4 separate regions of the Homo sapiens genome follow, and regions 1, 2 and 3 are each linked to region 4. Evidence: promoter capture Hi-C in 16 types of primary human blood cells and fetal thymus (Javierre and others, 2016). All regions are on one chromosome and are shown on one strand. The core of a region is centred on a gene start or on the middle of the fragment in contact, and the rest is flanking DNA. Distances in the headings are between cores, read along the strand shown. Region 1 holds the start of RPS29 (ribosomal protein S29). Region 2 holds the start of POLE2 (DNA polymerase epsilon 2, accessory subunit). Region 3 holds the start of KLHDC2 (kelch domain containing 2). Region 4 holds the start of NIN (ninein).

The links. The method cuts DNA at HindIII sites, captures the fragments that hold promoters and counts their contacts. A CHiCAGO score of 5 or more calls a contact.
Region 1: a contact is called between the fragment with the promoter of RPS29 here and the fragment with the promoter of NIN in region 4, in 9 of 17 cell types (activated CD4 T cells, non-activated CD4 T cells, naive B cells and 6 more). The highest score is 9.9, in activated CD4 T cells.
Region 2: the fragment with the promoter of POLE2 here is called in contact with the fragment with the promoter of NIN in region 4 in 2 of 17 cell types (non-activated CD4 T cells and naive CD4 T cells); the score reaches 5.6 in non-activated CD4 T cells.
Region 3: the fragment with the promoter of KLHDC2 here is called in contact with the fragment with the promoter of NIN in region 4 in 7 of 17 cell types (monocytes, total CD4 T cells, naive CD8 T cells and 4 more); the score reaches 10.5 in monocytes.

What each region holds. Positions count from the first base shown.
Region 1 is chr14:49,584,131-49,587,691 of GRCh38, forward strand. RPS29 (ribosomal protein S29) reads right to left here and starts at 2,250. Exons shown (of 3, transcript NM_001032.5): 1 at 2,155-2,250; 2 at 1,820-1,919. The coding sequence starts at 2,216. It also overlaps RN7SL1. RefSeq lists enhancers at 1-254, 1,281-1,330, 1,929-2,428, 2,301-2,810. The HindIII fragment of the contact is 6,928 bases long and covers 1-3,286 here.
Region 2 is chr14:49,686,272-49,689,470 of GRCh38, forward strand. It overlaps POLE2 (DNA polymerase epsilon 2, accessory subunit), which reads right to left and starts at 1,943. Exons shown (of 19, transcript NM_002692.4): 1 at 1,865-1,943. The coding sequence starts at 1,932. RefSeq lists enhancers at 1,180-1,941, 1,942-2,701 and a silencer at 2,006-2,055. The HindIII fragment of the contact is 3,892 bases long and covers 479-3,199 here.
Region 3 is chr14:49,766,810-49,770,303 of GRCh38, forward strand. KLHDC2 (kelch domain containing 2) reads left to right here and starts at 1,344. Exons shown (of 13, transcript NM_014315.3): 1 at 1,344-1,812. The coding sequence starts at 1,660. RefSeq lists silencers at 744-803, 1,144-1,223, 1,394-1,573. The HindIII fragment of the contact is 13,494 bases long and covers 1-3,494 here.
Region 4 is chr14:50,829,355-50,832,571 of GRCh38, forward strand. NIN (ninein) reads right to left here and starts at 1,808. Exons shown (of 31, transcript NM_020921.4): 1 at 1,652-1,808; 2 at 1,110-1,163. RefSeq lists an enhancer at 490-539 and silencers at 1,110-1,229, 1,250-1,299, 1,370-1,649, 1,700-2,149. The HindIII fragment of the contact is 8,436 bases long and covers 547-3,217 here.

The DNA.
Region 1 (3,561 bases), core at 1,000-3,499, 1.2 Mb before region 4:
ATCATCATACAAGGCTAATTTTTGTAGAAACAGGTTTTCGCCATGTTGGCAAGGCTTGTTGCGGAAACCCTGGGCTCAAGAAATCTGCCCATCTTGTCGGCCTCCCAAAGTGCTGGGATTTCAGGTGTGAGGCACCTCGCCTGGCCCAGTTCATCTAGGACACAGAGCTAGGGCGTGGGCCAAGGTCCATTTTCTTACGTATGATATACTACCTCTCAAATTAGGCGAACCTCCTCATTTTAACAAGAAGCATATACTGATGAAGTATTTGCTCAGGGCTGCCAAGCCTGAGTTTAAACGTACTTTCTCTGTCCCTGCTGCACTGCAGTATTCATATTAACAATTTACAACAGACAGGGCGCCGTGGATCACGCCTGTAATCCCAGCACTCTGAGGGGTCAAGGCAGGCCCATCTCCTGAGGTCAGGACCTCAAGACCAGCTTGGCCAACATGGTGAAATCCCATCTCCACAAAATAATAAAAATAGGCCGGGCGTGGTGGCAGACGCCTGTAATCCCAGGTACTAGGGAGGCTGAGACAGGAGAATCGCTTGAATCCGGGAGGGGGAGGCTAGTGAGCTGAGATCACGCCACTGCACTCCAGCCTGGGAAACAGAGGGAGACCCAATTTCAAAACAAAAAAAAAAATTTACATCATTATAGAACAGTACTATCCAATACAAAATAATTGATCAGAAAGCTGGTGATTTTTATCTCAAAGAGCCAATAATAAATTCGTTTTCACCTTAAAAAAAAAAACCCAAACTACTATTTAAAAGATTTTCAGAAGCCAAAAGTTTCACAGTCAAAAGTTTCATATAAACACTAGCTTGACTAAGATGATCAAGAGATAGAAGCACTAAATGGCAGACCATTGTTTGCTGAATCTTAACAATGTCTTTCCGGCCCCAAACTTTAAGTTCATTCCAGTGTATGACGCTTTCAAACATTTTGGGTTGGCCGGGCGCGGTGGCTCACGCCTGTAATCTCAGCACTTTGGGAGGCCGAAGCAGGCGGATCACGAGGTCAGCAGTTCGAGACCAGCCTGACCAACATGGTAAAACCCCGTCTCTACTAAAAATAAAAAAATTAGCCGGACATGGTGGCAGGCGCCTGTAATCCCAGCTATTCAGGAGGCTGAGGCAGGAGAATCGCTTGAACCGGGGAGGCGGAGGTTGCACTGAGCGGAGATCACGCCATCGCACTCCAGGTTGGGTGAGTGCGACTCCGACTCAAAAAAAAAAAAAAAAAAACTTGGGGTCAGCGGTTAATACATATATTTGGTTAGAAAATATCTAGGTACAGCCGCGCGTGGTGGCAAGAGCCTTTAGTCCCAGCTACTCGGGACGCCAAGGCAAGAGGATCGCCTGAGACCAGGAGGAGTTCGAGGCTGCAGTGAGCCGTAACAACGCCACTGCACTTCAACCTGGGCGACAGAGGGAGACCCTATCTCTAAAAAAAAAAAAAAGAGAATAGGTACTTACAAGATTGATAAATGAAACAAATGTAAAACAATTTTAGTGGCTTCTCTAAAGTGAATTTCACCAAACACAATACACGGCACCTAAAACTGGCTAAGCTATCTAGGTAAAAAAGGGAGTAGGAAAGACTAAGTCCTTCACCTTCTCCATTCTATTAATTTGATTGCCCAAACCATCAACACTGTCACCAGCTACCAACTAAAAAAAGAGGAAAAGCTCTTGGTCGAATGCTCAGAATTACCACTCCAGGGAAGATCTGTCCGTTTGTCTTTCGCGGAAAAAATAACCCCCACAACCTTCTCTGCCCAAACAACATGGAGTACGCCTGCAGACGCCTACCTTAATGAAACCGATATCCTTCGCGTACTGACGGAAACACTGGCGGCACATATTGAGGCCATATTTCCGGATCAGACCGTGCCGGTTTGAACAGACACGACTGTAAGAAAAGAGACAGCGGTTTTGCAGGTCATAGAAATTACAAGACTCCGCACTCAGACGGCTACTACCCGCATCCCGGGACTCCCAAGCCACAGTACAGGCCTGTAATGGCGGCACCAGCGACTCCCAGTCGGCGTGCTCCCTCGTGCCGCCCGTGGCCTCCTCTACTTGAGATTTTAAGCAGCCTAGCGCTCCACGGCAACGCTTCCCCAAAATCACAAACTATTTCTCACCAAGAGCGAGAACCCTGGCCGAATTTTCGCGGGTGGCTCCAGTACAGCTGCTGGTGACCCATCTTGCTCTCAGCAGTGCAACGAGGTAAAAGGAAGAAGCTGGCCCACGCATGCGCTCTTCAAATTTTTGAGACAGTTTACCCAGAATGCAGTGCTCAAAGGAAACGCGTGCGCAGTGTGGTCAGGTTGTTTCGCTGGGTGAGTAAAATGAAATCTTAGAGGCGTTGTGGGCTGGCCCAGTTGATGACGTCACCATACCACAGCTTCTAGTGCTATTCTGCGCCGGTATCCGACCGCCGGGCGCGGTGGCGCGTGCCTGTAGTCCCAGCTACTCGGGAGGCTGAGGCTGGAGGATCGCTTGAGTCCAGGAGTTCTGGGCTGTAGTGCGCTATGCCGATCGGGTGTCCGCACTAAGTTCGGCATCAATATGGTGACCTCCCGGGAGCGGGGGACCACCAGGTTGCCTAAGGAGGGGTGAACCGGCCCAGGTCGGAAACGGAGCAGGTCAAAACTCCCGTGCTGATCAGTAGTGGGATCGCGCCTGTGAATAGCCACTGCACTCCAGCCTGGGCAACATAGCGAGACCCCGTCTCTTTTGAACAATAAATACGTTAATTTTGGACTCTCAAGAGATGAATATTCTCATAGTCTTTTTTATTGATTAAACCTTTTACTTTCTTTTAATTAAAACGTTACACTTGGGAAAGGAGTTTTTCCTCGACTCACCAGTGACACCTACTGGAATAAATTTACAAAACAACTTAAAATCAGCTGTAATGATCACGAGTCAACGGTAGGGTTTGCTTTTATTTTGTTAAAGAGAGTACGTTTTCAAATTTATTTTTTTGACACACTCCTCCAAGAAATACACCTACACCATTCCAAAAAAAAATGAGATTCTTTGGCATTTAGTGTATTTGATTCTTAAATGTAATTGGCTGAATGTAAAGTAATAAACAAGTAATGTGCAGTGTATGTTGCTTTGACCAGATAATTTGGTGACAAAACAAGTAATGAAAAGCAAATGCAAAAATGCAAAAAACCAATGTCAATAAACGAATTTCTGCTGAAAGATACCTACATTCCATATGGTCATTTATAATGCCTCCAGATAAAACTGCTCTGAAATCAAAGCTTTAACTAGATTTATAAAATGTAGCACAGGGTGCAACAATTCCAGAAACTTTTACATATAAACTTTTATAAATTGAAATACAACACTTCTTTAAGGTATGTTATGTCAGGGTTCTAGTGGGGTCCCCCTACCCAATCATTAAGTTAGGCATTGTATTATATGATTAAGGAAGGAGGGGAGTCAGAGATTTGTAAACTAGATATAACTTGCTCCTTGCCCTCAAAATTTTCTAATCTGTGGGAAACAGGATTATCTCCAAGACTTCAACATAC
Region 2 (3,199 bases), core at 693-3,192, 1.1 Mb before region 4:
AAAAAATTTAAAAATAACAAGATGTCACCTCCTTGATTAGGTTGCCTCAGAGTTACTAGAAGACTCTCTCTCTTGATGAAGCCATGTTGGGGGCACACATGGCAAGGGACTGAGGATAGCCTCCAGCCAACAGCCTGCCAGGCAATCAGGAACTGAATCCTGCCAACAACTGAATGAGCTTGAAGCGAATGCTGTCTGGACAACATTTGAGATGATCCATCTTGACTGCAACCTTGTGAAAAGACCCTGAAGTTGAGGACCCAACTAAGCCACACCTGAATTCCTAACCCACAGAAAATTTGAGATAATGTGTACTGTTTTAGCCTTTAAATTGTGGGGTAATTTGTCACGCAGCAATAGAATACATTATCTGCCCCCTACAAAGCTCTTGCTCTCTATTGCACCCCCTTACCCCAGCACGGTGCTTTGCAGCTAACAGATTTAAGTATACTTATGACTGAAATAATTAATGAACAAAAGCTTAATATTAGGTCAAATTCTAAGCGAAAAGAAAGTTAATTCATCAGTTCCTCATGCTTTCAAAATGTCAAGGACCAATTGAACAAAATTCATTATTTTCTCCCAAGGCATCTCCCAAAGCACAGTTAAAAGTCCCATAAAACTCACAAAACCAACCAAAAATCTACACACACAAAAGCAATAAAAACTGATACAGAGAGGTATATCCAATCCAGCAGGTATTTCAATATGTATAAAATATTGTGTTCTAGGTCAGGCGCAGTGGTTCACGCCTGTAATTCCAGCATTCTGGGAGGCCACGGCGCGAGGACTACTTGAGCCCAGGAGTTCAAGACCAGCCTGGGCAACATAGCCAGACCCCGTCTCTAAAAAACATACAACAACAAAAAATCAGCCAGGTATGGTGGCCCATGCCTGCAGTCCCAGCTACTTCAGCCCAGGAGGTTGAGGCTGCAGTAAGTCAAGTTCGCATCACTGCCCTCCAGCTTGGGCGAGAGTGAGACCATGACTCAAAAAAAAAAAAATACATATATATATATACACACACACCACACACACACACACACACACACACACACACACACACGTACATATAGAACTCTAAAACACGGAGCAGATTTAATGAGAGAAATCTTGGGAAGGTTCATATGTTCTATAGGTCCTCAAAAACACGGATATGCCCAGGAAACCTGACTTTCACATAAATTGGCAACTGCAGACGTGCAAGTGGGCTTTCTCGGGTCTCTCATCTTATGTCTCAGCAACCTTCCCGGGAGCCTGAGAGCTGTCCAGGTCACAATGTTGATAACCGGCTGCCATAGATAGGTTGCAGCTTCTCGGGCTCAGTTTGACATGTGCAGAAGAGCCTCGGCCCGCCTAGAAGAAACATTAAACTCCTCGCATGGGTCGGGGAAACCAAAGAAGGCACGGCAGCCTCAAGATCCACCTCGCTTCTTAGAACTTTTTTTTAATGGAGTCTCTCTCTGTCGCCAGGATGGAGTAGAGTGGCACGATATCGGCTCACCGCAACCTCCTCCTCCCGGGTTCAAGCGATTCTCCTGCCTCAGCCTCCCAACTAACTGGGACTACAAGCGCGCGCCACCACGCCCAGCTAATTTTTGTATTTTTAGTAGAGACGGGGCTTCACCATGTTGGCCAGGATGGTCTCGATCTCCTGACCTCGTGATCCGCCCGCCTCGACCTCCCAAAGTGCTGGGATTACAAGCGTGAGCCACCGCGCCCGACCGCTTCTTAGAACTCTGAAATTTAAGGTCAAGCCCCCTCTCGGCGCGCGGGGAGCCGCCGCGGTGCGTCCCGCTGCCGCACCAGGCAGACGGGCCCCAGCTCTTCCCTCTCGCCCTTCAAGCTGCCCGAGCCCACTCACCCACGGAGCAGCAAGCCCCGCAACTTGAAGGCGGAGAGCGCCCGGCTCCGCAGCCGCTCCGGCGCCATATTTGCGATTTGGCGCCACCGCCGCAGCTCCGCCCCTTCCCGGGCGCGCCCCTCCCAGCTCCGGCCTCGGCCCTGGCCCGCGTGGCGCTAAACCCTGTTAAGATCCCTGCTTGGTCTCCGCTGCCTGCGCCGCAGCAACTCAGACCTTACAGTTCGCAACCCCGGACCGAGTAGGCTGAAAGTGGAGACCACCTCGCGCTCCTTTGCTGCCGGGAAACTGAGGGCCAGAGCGTCTTCCCTGGTGTCGGGCTGCGTTGAGCCAGCCACAGCGCTCTCACCGCTGCCCTAGACATTGCAGGACTGCGGCCGAGCTTCCCGGACACAGGATCCCCCTTCTTTCGAGGCCATGAGAGCTGTTGGGTTCCCTACTTCGCACAAGCTCTGGAAATACTGTGCCTCGACATTTACCGGAAGCTGTTATAAATCTCCATCGCTCCCACCTACCCCGATTTTTATTTAACTTGAGGGCTTCGTATGCGCCATGCACTGTCATAAGCACTTTAAATGTGTGAATTCATGTGTTGCTCATGACAGCCCAGTGAGCTGTCTACTGTCTTTTCCACAACAGCCTCATTTTACAGATGAGAAAACTGAGACACAAAAATGGTAAAGGACTTGCTCAAGATGAAACGACGAGTTAAATGGTGTAGTCAGGATTTGAACTCAGTTATTCTGATTTCAGGTGGACTGTCAATCTGCCACACTTCAAAACGCTTGCTCCAATGAGTTGACTAACCCGTGGAGTGCTTATAAGTAAACACGCGGCTTATAAAACAGGAGGATGATTTCACAGTACCAATATAAAGTGACCTCCAACGTATACGGGTTTTTTTCTTTTTTAAAAAAAAGCGAAGTTTAATGAAGGAAGGGAAACAAAAGTATATGTATTTGTTTTTGCATTTTAAAAACCTCTGGGCCCGGGCGCGGTGGCTCACATCTGTAATCCCAGAACTTTGGGAGGCCGATGCTGGCAGATCACTTGAGGCCAAGAGTTCGAGAACAGCCGGGCCAACATGGTGAAACCCCGTCTCTACCAAAAAAAAAAAAAAAAAAAAAAAATTAGCCAGGCGTGGTGGCGCGCGCCTGTAATCCCAGCTCCTGGGGAGGTTGAGGCAGGAGAATCTCTTGAGCCTCGGAGGCGGAGGGTGCAGTGAGCCGAGATCGTGCCACCACTCCAGCCTGGGCAACAAAGCAAGGCTCTGTCTCAAAAACAAAAAAAGCCGGGCGCAGTGGTTCACGCCTGTAATCCCAGCACTTTGGGAGGCCG
Region 3 (3,494 bases), core at 94-2,593, 1.1 Mb before region 4:
GGCCTCAGGTGATCCGCCTGCCTCGGCCTTCCAAAGTGTTGGGATTACAGGCGTGAGCCACCGCGCCCAGCCGAGATATTAATTTTGGATTCTACTAAGGACGACGGGAGCCAGCTCAAGGTTTTTAAGTGACTCGATCAGATTCACGAGGTTGGTTCACAAGGAACTTCGATAACCCCAAAGTCTAGTGAGCATAATTCGACTGGGAGAAGACACTGCTGCAAGGAATTCTGTGAACCAGACAGATTTGAGGGCACCAACCAGGGTGGATGGCAGATAAGGTCTTAACAGCCTCAAGGTGATTTGCTTCCTTGTTGAAGGCTTTAATTAATCCTCTTAAGTAACTTTCAAGTTCTTGAGTTCAAGTAAACACACTGGCACACTAGGGGAGGAGTGGCAGGCTATAAGCATTTTAATAATTAAAAAAAAAAAGCCTTTTATTGTTCAAAGTGTTCCTTTTCTATGGAGTGCTCCCAACCAGAAGATGAGGGAAATGGAGATAATGAAGCACGTCCCTCCTACCAAACACGATAAATTCTACAGGCACTGTAAGATCAAGAATTTAAGATTATTTTTGTCCCACCCTATTTTACAGGTGAGGTATCAAGCACAGTAACTCGTAATTTTCTTTTGGCCCAATTGAAAGGTATCATATAAGAGAAAGCTGTGTGTGCGTGAAAAGGATCCGCCTTTCTTTCTGAAGAAAAGGGTGGTTACGGCTTCGGAAACGCTTTTCAAGCCAACTCTGCAGCCCGGCTGGCGGCGGCAGCGGCGGCGGCGGCAACGTCAGATTCCCGCAGAGGCGGCGCCCGGCAGGGGCGGCAGGAGCTCAGGAGAGGCCCCCGGGGATCGGGCTGGGCCCCACGTGAGAGCTAAGCGACTGCCCTCGCGCCCGCAGAACAGCAGGGCCTGCATCGACTCTAAGGCGAGACCAGAAACTTGCTAGTGGAGCAATTCTGGTGCCCCTGCCCGGGCTGTGAACCCTCTGAGATCATCCCTCAATCAAACGAATAGAAATCCTCGGGAAGAAAAAAAAAATTGCGGCAATCCGGCTAAAATTCAGCAGCTTTCAGGGACCGATTCAGGACATTATCCCTGTGGTTCCCTCAGTGAAAGGAGACTCGAAGCGCGACTAGAAGTCGCCGGGCCCCATAGATCTGCGGTGCCCAGGCCGTAGGCGGAGGCGCGGGCAGAGGCGGCGGCGGCGGCGGCGGCGGCTGGAGGACCCGGCGCTGGGGGCGCTGAGCGGCAGCCTCGCTTCCGGAGCTCGGCGGGCGGCGTCAGCGGAACGGGCGGCTTCCGGCCGCGGCGTAAACAAGGCCGTGGACTGCAGGAGGCGGGGCAGACGGGCTGCAATAGGGAGCCGGCCCGACGCGGACCGCTTCCCTGCAGTGCCCCGAGTCCCGGGCCCGCGCCGCCGCCGCCCGGCTCCGCTCGCGGCCCCTCTGTCTGCAGGCGTGCCCCGGCGGCGGCGGAGAGCCGTCCTCGGCCGAGGAGGCTGGGAAACGCGAGCGCAGGCGGCAGAGAGGCCTCAACGCCGTCCCTTTCGCCACCGCCTTTTCCTTGCCTCGCGCCGCTGTGCATTTCTCTCCTTTTCCTTTGTTTTTTTGGCCCCTCGCGGGTGTGGGCATTGTTGGTTAGCAAAAGTGCAGCCTCAAGATGGCTGATGGCAACGAGGATCTGCGGGCTGACGACTTGCCTGGGCCAGCCTTCGAGAGCTATGAGTCCATGGAGCTTGCCTGCCCCGCTGAGCGCAGCGGCCACGTAGCCGTCAGCGACGGGCGCCACATGTTCGTCTGGGGCGGCTACAAGGTCAGTGAGTGGCCGGGCCGCGACGGACGTCGCTCGGCTGTGACTCGGGTCTGCGTTCGCGGCCAGGCGGGGAGGCCAGAGCGGGCCGCCGAGGGCGCTCCCCGCCTGCGTCGCGCGCCCCACCTCAGACTCTGCCCGTTGGTTGTTTTTTTTTTGCGCGCGGGAATCTTCCTTCTCTCGAGTACCCCAACCCGTCTCGAACCTCCAGGGCTGCTGTCATGTCACCCTGGTGCTCACAAAGCCAACTCACTCCCACCCCCGTTGTTGCCATTGGAGCGTTATTCCGGGGAAGGCCCTGTTAATGTTGCTTGGGCGGTGCATTCGGAAGGGTTGGGGTGTGAAAGGTGACGGTGTGTGATATCACTCAGACGCGTTATGAGGACGGCCTACGAGGACTTCACCCTCTGGAGCTGGGAACCGCTGCCCACTTACAGGGAGGCCGAGGTGTAGGAAAACTGGAATTCCAAAAGGTTACAGGAACCACCTTATTCAGCCTTCCCGCCTGTGCAAATGGCCATCAGGACTGTTTTCCTTCTGGCTTCAGCTGGGTTGAAGTTTTTCAGCAGACACCCCTATTAAGATAATGGAAAAGCTCCACCAGTAACCAAAAAATCCCCAGCATCAAATGAACTACAGAGTGCAGCTCTTTGACTCTCCGATCCCCTGGTTATAAACAACGTGATTAGTTAGCAGTTTAAAGCCAGTTGCCATTCTTTACCCTGCTAACCTCGGAAATCTAGAATTTTATTTGCTAGGATGGCTCTGAGCCAGTCCTACCACAAAATTCCTCTTTGGTCTTGAAAATGTTCTCCGCCCTCCCCACGCCCGTGCCTTGGATGACTTGCTTTGTGATTGTTTTTAGCTTATGGTACAGCTGACTTGATCATAGTTGACCATTTTTGAGATAGCTTTCAAAGATGGCTGTCCTGATACTTTATTTTGGTTTAACTGCAAAAGTAATTTTTTGCCAATCCTAATGAATCTGCAGTGTTTTCCCCAGTTTCCAATGAATGTGGTTAGAAAATAGAAAGGGGGCCGGGCGCGGTGGCTCACGCCTGTAATCCTAGCACTTTGGGAGGCCAAGGTAGGTGGATCAGCTGAAGTCAGGAGCTCGAGACCAGCCTGGCCAACATAGTGAAACTCCGTCTCTACTAAAAATACAAAAAAAAAAATTAGCCTGGCGTGGTGACGGGCGCCCTAATCCCGTCTACTTGAGAGGCTAAGGCAGGAGAATCACTTGAACCAGGGAGGCGGAGTTTGCAGTGAGCTGAGACGGCGCCATTGCACTCCAGCCTGGGCAACAAGAAGGAAACTGTCTCAAAAATACTTTAGAAAGGGGTAGAGAATTGCAAGAAGGGGGGCGGGGGGGCAAGCATGTAGTCACCCTTATAAAAATGTAAATTAATTCCCCTGGAGAAACCTGTCAATGACACTTCTAAGCTACCTAATTCATAATTGTATTTTTAAAATGACAGCATGAGAGAATAAGACTTTGGGAGTGGGGCAGGGGAGGATTCTTAGTGTGGAATATTTCTTGTGGATTTAAAAGGGCCTGGATGATTGGGGCCGATTCAGGGAGGAGCAGCACAATCACTGAATTGGATGGTTCTGAAACAGACTGCCCTCCCCATTTATGGCTGGTGGCTGGAACCCTGAGGGTAGGCACAGAAGTCCTTGGAGAT
Region 4 (3,217 bases), core at 558-3,057:
AATTAAACTGACAGAAAAAAGGAATTTTCCTTGTTAGATCATCAAGCCTCCGGAATCATGCAAACATGTGTGTATGTTATGGTGTTTACGGGGACCTAACTGAGAAACGTCGTGGTTCCAGGGGCTTCCCTCATGTGTCAGGATGGACTTTATCAGGATTCTCATCCTACAAAGCTACCATGTCAGTCACAAAAGACAACTACGCAATCTGTTTCGATGTAATAAATTCAGGAGTTGAGCTGTATGGCAAGCCCATCTTAGAAGTCCTCAACACCAGGAGAGGATCTGTCCTAGTTAGGAGCAGAAAGCAGATCTCATAATATCCAAGTTGTCTGGAAACATGATATATGGTAGGGCAGTCTTTCCAGCTCCCATTTTGTTGGTGCCTTCACCTCGGGTTGTCAGGGCTGGGGTTAGGGAAATTGCCTCTTTCCGTCTCTATCTCTTTTAACTTCGCAGCGAGAGCTGGAAGCAGTGACTGTTCCCATCACCTAGTGTCCTTCTGTCAGGGGCCGCTTCGGTAGCTACAGAAGCCTAGCCGCTGGAAGCTTCCTTCCCCGACACTCCATACCTCCATGCCACACCTTTTAGGCAATAACCAAATGTCATTTTGTTCTTTCCCCTTCTCCTGGGCATTATACTGGGAAACTGTTTACGCGCATCGACCCCGCACACCTCCAAAAATCTCCACTTTCCGGGCTCCAAGCAGCTCTCCGCTACTCAGACAGCCCAGGCTAACACCTCGGATTTCCCCATGCAGTTTCCTCTGCAGCGTCTCAATCACAAGGCTGTACGGGCGGCACATGCCAACGGAACCACCACCCCTTCTGCTCCCTCGGGGACTCAAGCCTGCTCTCGGTCAAAGCACAGAAGCGGCTTTCAGCTCCGGGCAGGCGGCCGGGGCGTCGGGGGTACTGGAAGTGCCCAAACCCAGCGGTGCTGCCGCGCGGGGAAGCGGAGGTGCGGCCGCAGGACAAGCGCGCCTCCCAAGTCCCTGGCCACCTGCGATGCGTCCTCAACTCGCCTGCCCATCGCCACTACCAGAAACCTCAGACAGCCCATTGTGTGGGCAGGCAGCGCGCTCCCCCGGCCCCGCCGCCCTCGCCTACCTTCTGTCGGTCTCTCCGGAGCGCCCGCACAGCCGGCAGCCCGCCTCCAGCGCTCTGCAAAGCGAAGGAGGACGCTTTGTTAGGGCTGGAGAAACGGGACAATACTTCGCAGCCGGCGCAGCGGTTCCGGGCGGGCGTCCTTCAAAAGGACGCGAATGGGGACCCGCGTGAGCGTCATTTCCATATGTAAGGGGCCAGCTCTTACAAAAGCGCGGCTCTCGGGGGCCGCGGGCTGCAGCGCGCATCCTCCCCGCCCCCGCCGGCCCGCCCCCGCCCGCGCAGCCCGCGCCTCCGGGACCGGCCCCTCCTCCCGCCTCCGAAGCAGCCCCGTCCCCGCCTCGTCCTCCCGCCCGGCCGCTGCTTCCTCCCGGCCCGCAGGGATTGCGCCCCGCTGGCCCCGGACCCCAAATGGGAAGCCCCCGAGTGATCCGGTGCCCAGTTCGCTCCGGGCTCTCAGGGCCTCGCCGACGGCGCGGGGGCAGCGCGAGGCCTCCGTGCACCCCCAGGCCGTGGGTCCGGGTCCCCGGGGTTGCGCCACTTACTGCGTCCCGGGGCTCAGGCGCCCGGCGCCGCCGCGGGAACCATGGCCGCTGGCGCACTCCGGGCTTGGCGGCGGCAGCGGGACGGCCGCGCCCAGCGCGCTCGGCTCCCGGCTCGGCCGCGGCCACCCGGAGCTCTGGACGCCGGGGAGGAAGGGCCGGGCCCGCGCGGGGAGGAGGAGTCAGGGCGACGCCGGCCCCGGCGCGGCTCCTCCTCTGCGGCCCGCGCGGCTCAGGCAGCGGAGGGAGGAGCGGGCGGCGCCGCCTGAGCCCTCGCAGACGCGCCCTCCCGCTCCGAGCGCCCGCCTCCGAGATCTGAAGTTAGAAACGCCGGGGCTCCGGGTGCGGGTGTAGGAGGCTGGCGCCCCGAGGTCGCCACCGAGCTGGGGCTGGCGCTGCCACCCTCGCCCCTTGCCTGTCCGCCTCCCTTTCTTTCCCAACACGCCTACACTCACCCGCACCGCGGACACTCGGGCCGCAGCGTCTTCGCGCAGAGGAAGGGCCCCCGCCTTCAGCAAGCGGGACTTTAAGGGGGTGATTTCCCAGCCCTCGGGTGTCGATTGGCCATCAACATTGGAAAGGGTGTTCAGGAGGCAGAAGGGCTGTAGAAGTGACTCGGAACCCTGTAGAGCGAGCGCGACCCTCCTGCCGGGTCTACACTGGCTTCCGCACCTGCCCACCACGTCCTCACAGGCTCCCGCCCCTGTGCAGCCTTCTCCGGGTGAAGCTAACCCTCGGTCGCAAGCCACACAGGACGAAAACTCCTTGGAGTTGGTGGTTCCCAGCCCAACAGTTGCTCGATATTAATCGCCTCCTACCTACTACCCCAGAGTCTGCGTTCTCACTCCCCCATCCCTACACTTCTGATCTCATTGCAGTCAAATAGGATCCCAAGTCCAGGCCATGGTTCTTTTTGAGCTGCAGGGTTAAATGTGTTGCCCTTGAAGGATCCGCCTGATGGATTACAACCCACAAGTCTGGTTATTTTAGCAGGAAACTGGTGATTCCTTTTCTACCGAGAAAGCAAGCAACAGACAAGAGGAAACCAGCATTCCTTGAGAATCCAGTGCGCTAGAAACTCGACAGAAATTATCTTATCTAATTCTCACATCACTCTTAGGAGGCAGACATTATTTTGCAGATGAGGAAAATGGATCTCCCAGAAGTCAAAGAGCTTCCTCAGGATCACACAGCAGGAACTCCACAGAACTGAGATTCAAAAGCAGATCACATATGTGGCAAAATTGCATAGAACTGAATATACACTCACAAATGAGAGCACGTGAAACTCATGAAATTTGAATAAGACATTTGGACTACACTAATGTCCATTTACTGATTGTAATATTGTTCTACAGTTATGCAAAATGTTACCATTGAGAAAAATTAAGTGAAGCGTCTATAGGGAATCTCTCTATTATTCCTTACAACTTCAAGCGAATTTACAGTTACCTCAAAAAATTTTTTTAAAAATTTTAAACATCTCAGTCTTATTCAAAAGCCCAGGCTCTCTTCTTTCAACACGGTATATAAGCGTGCCTGCAGAATAAGAGAGATTTATGCTCCTCT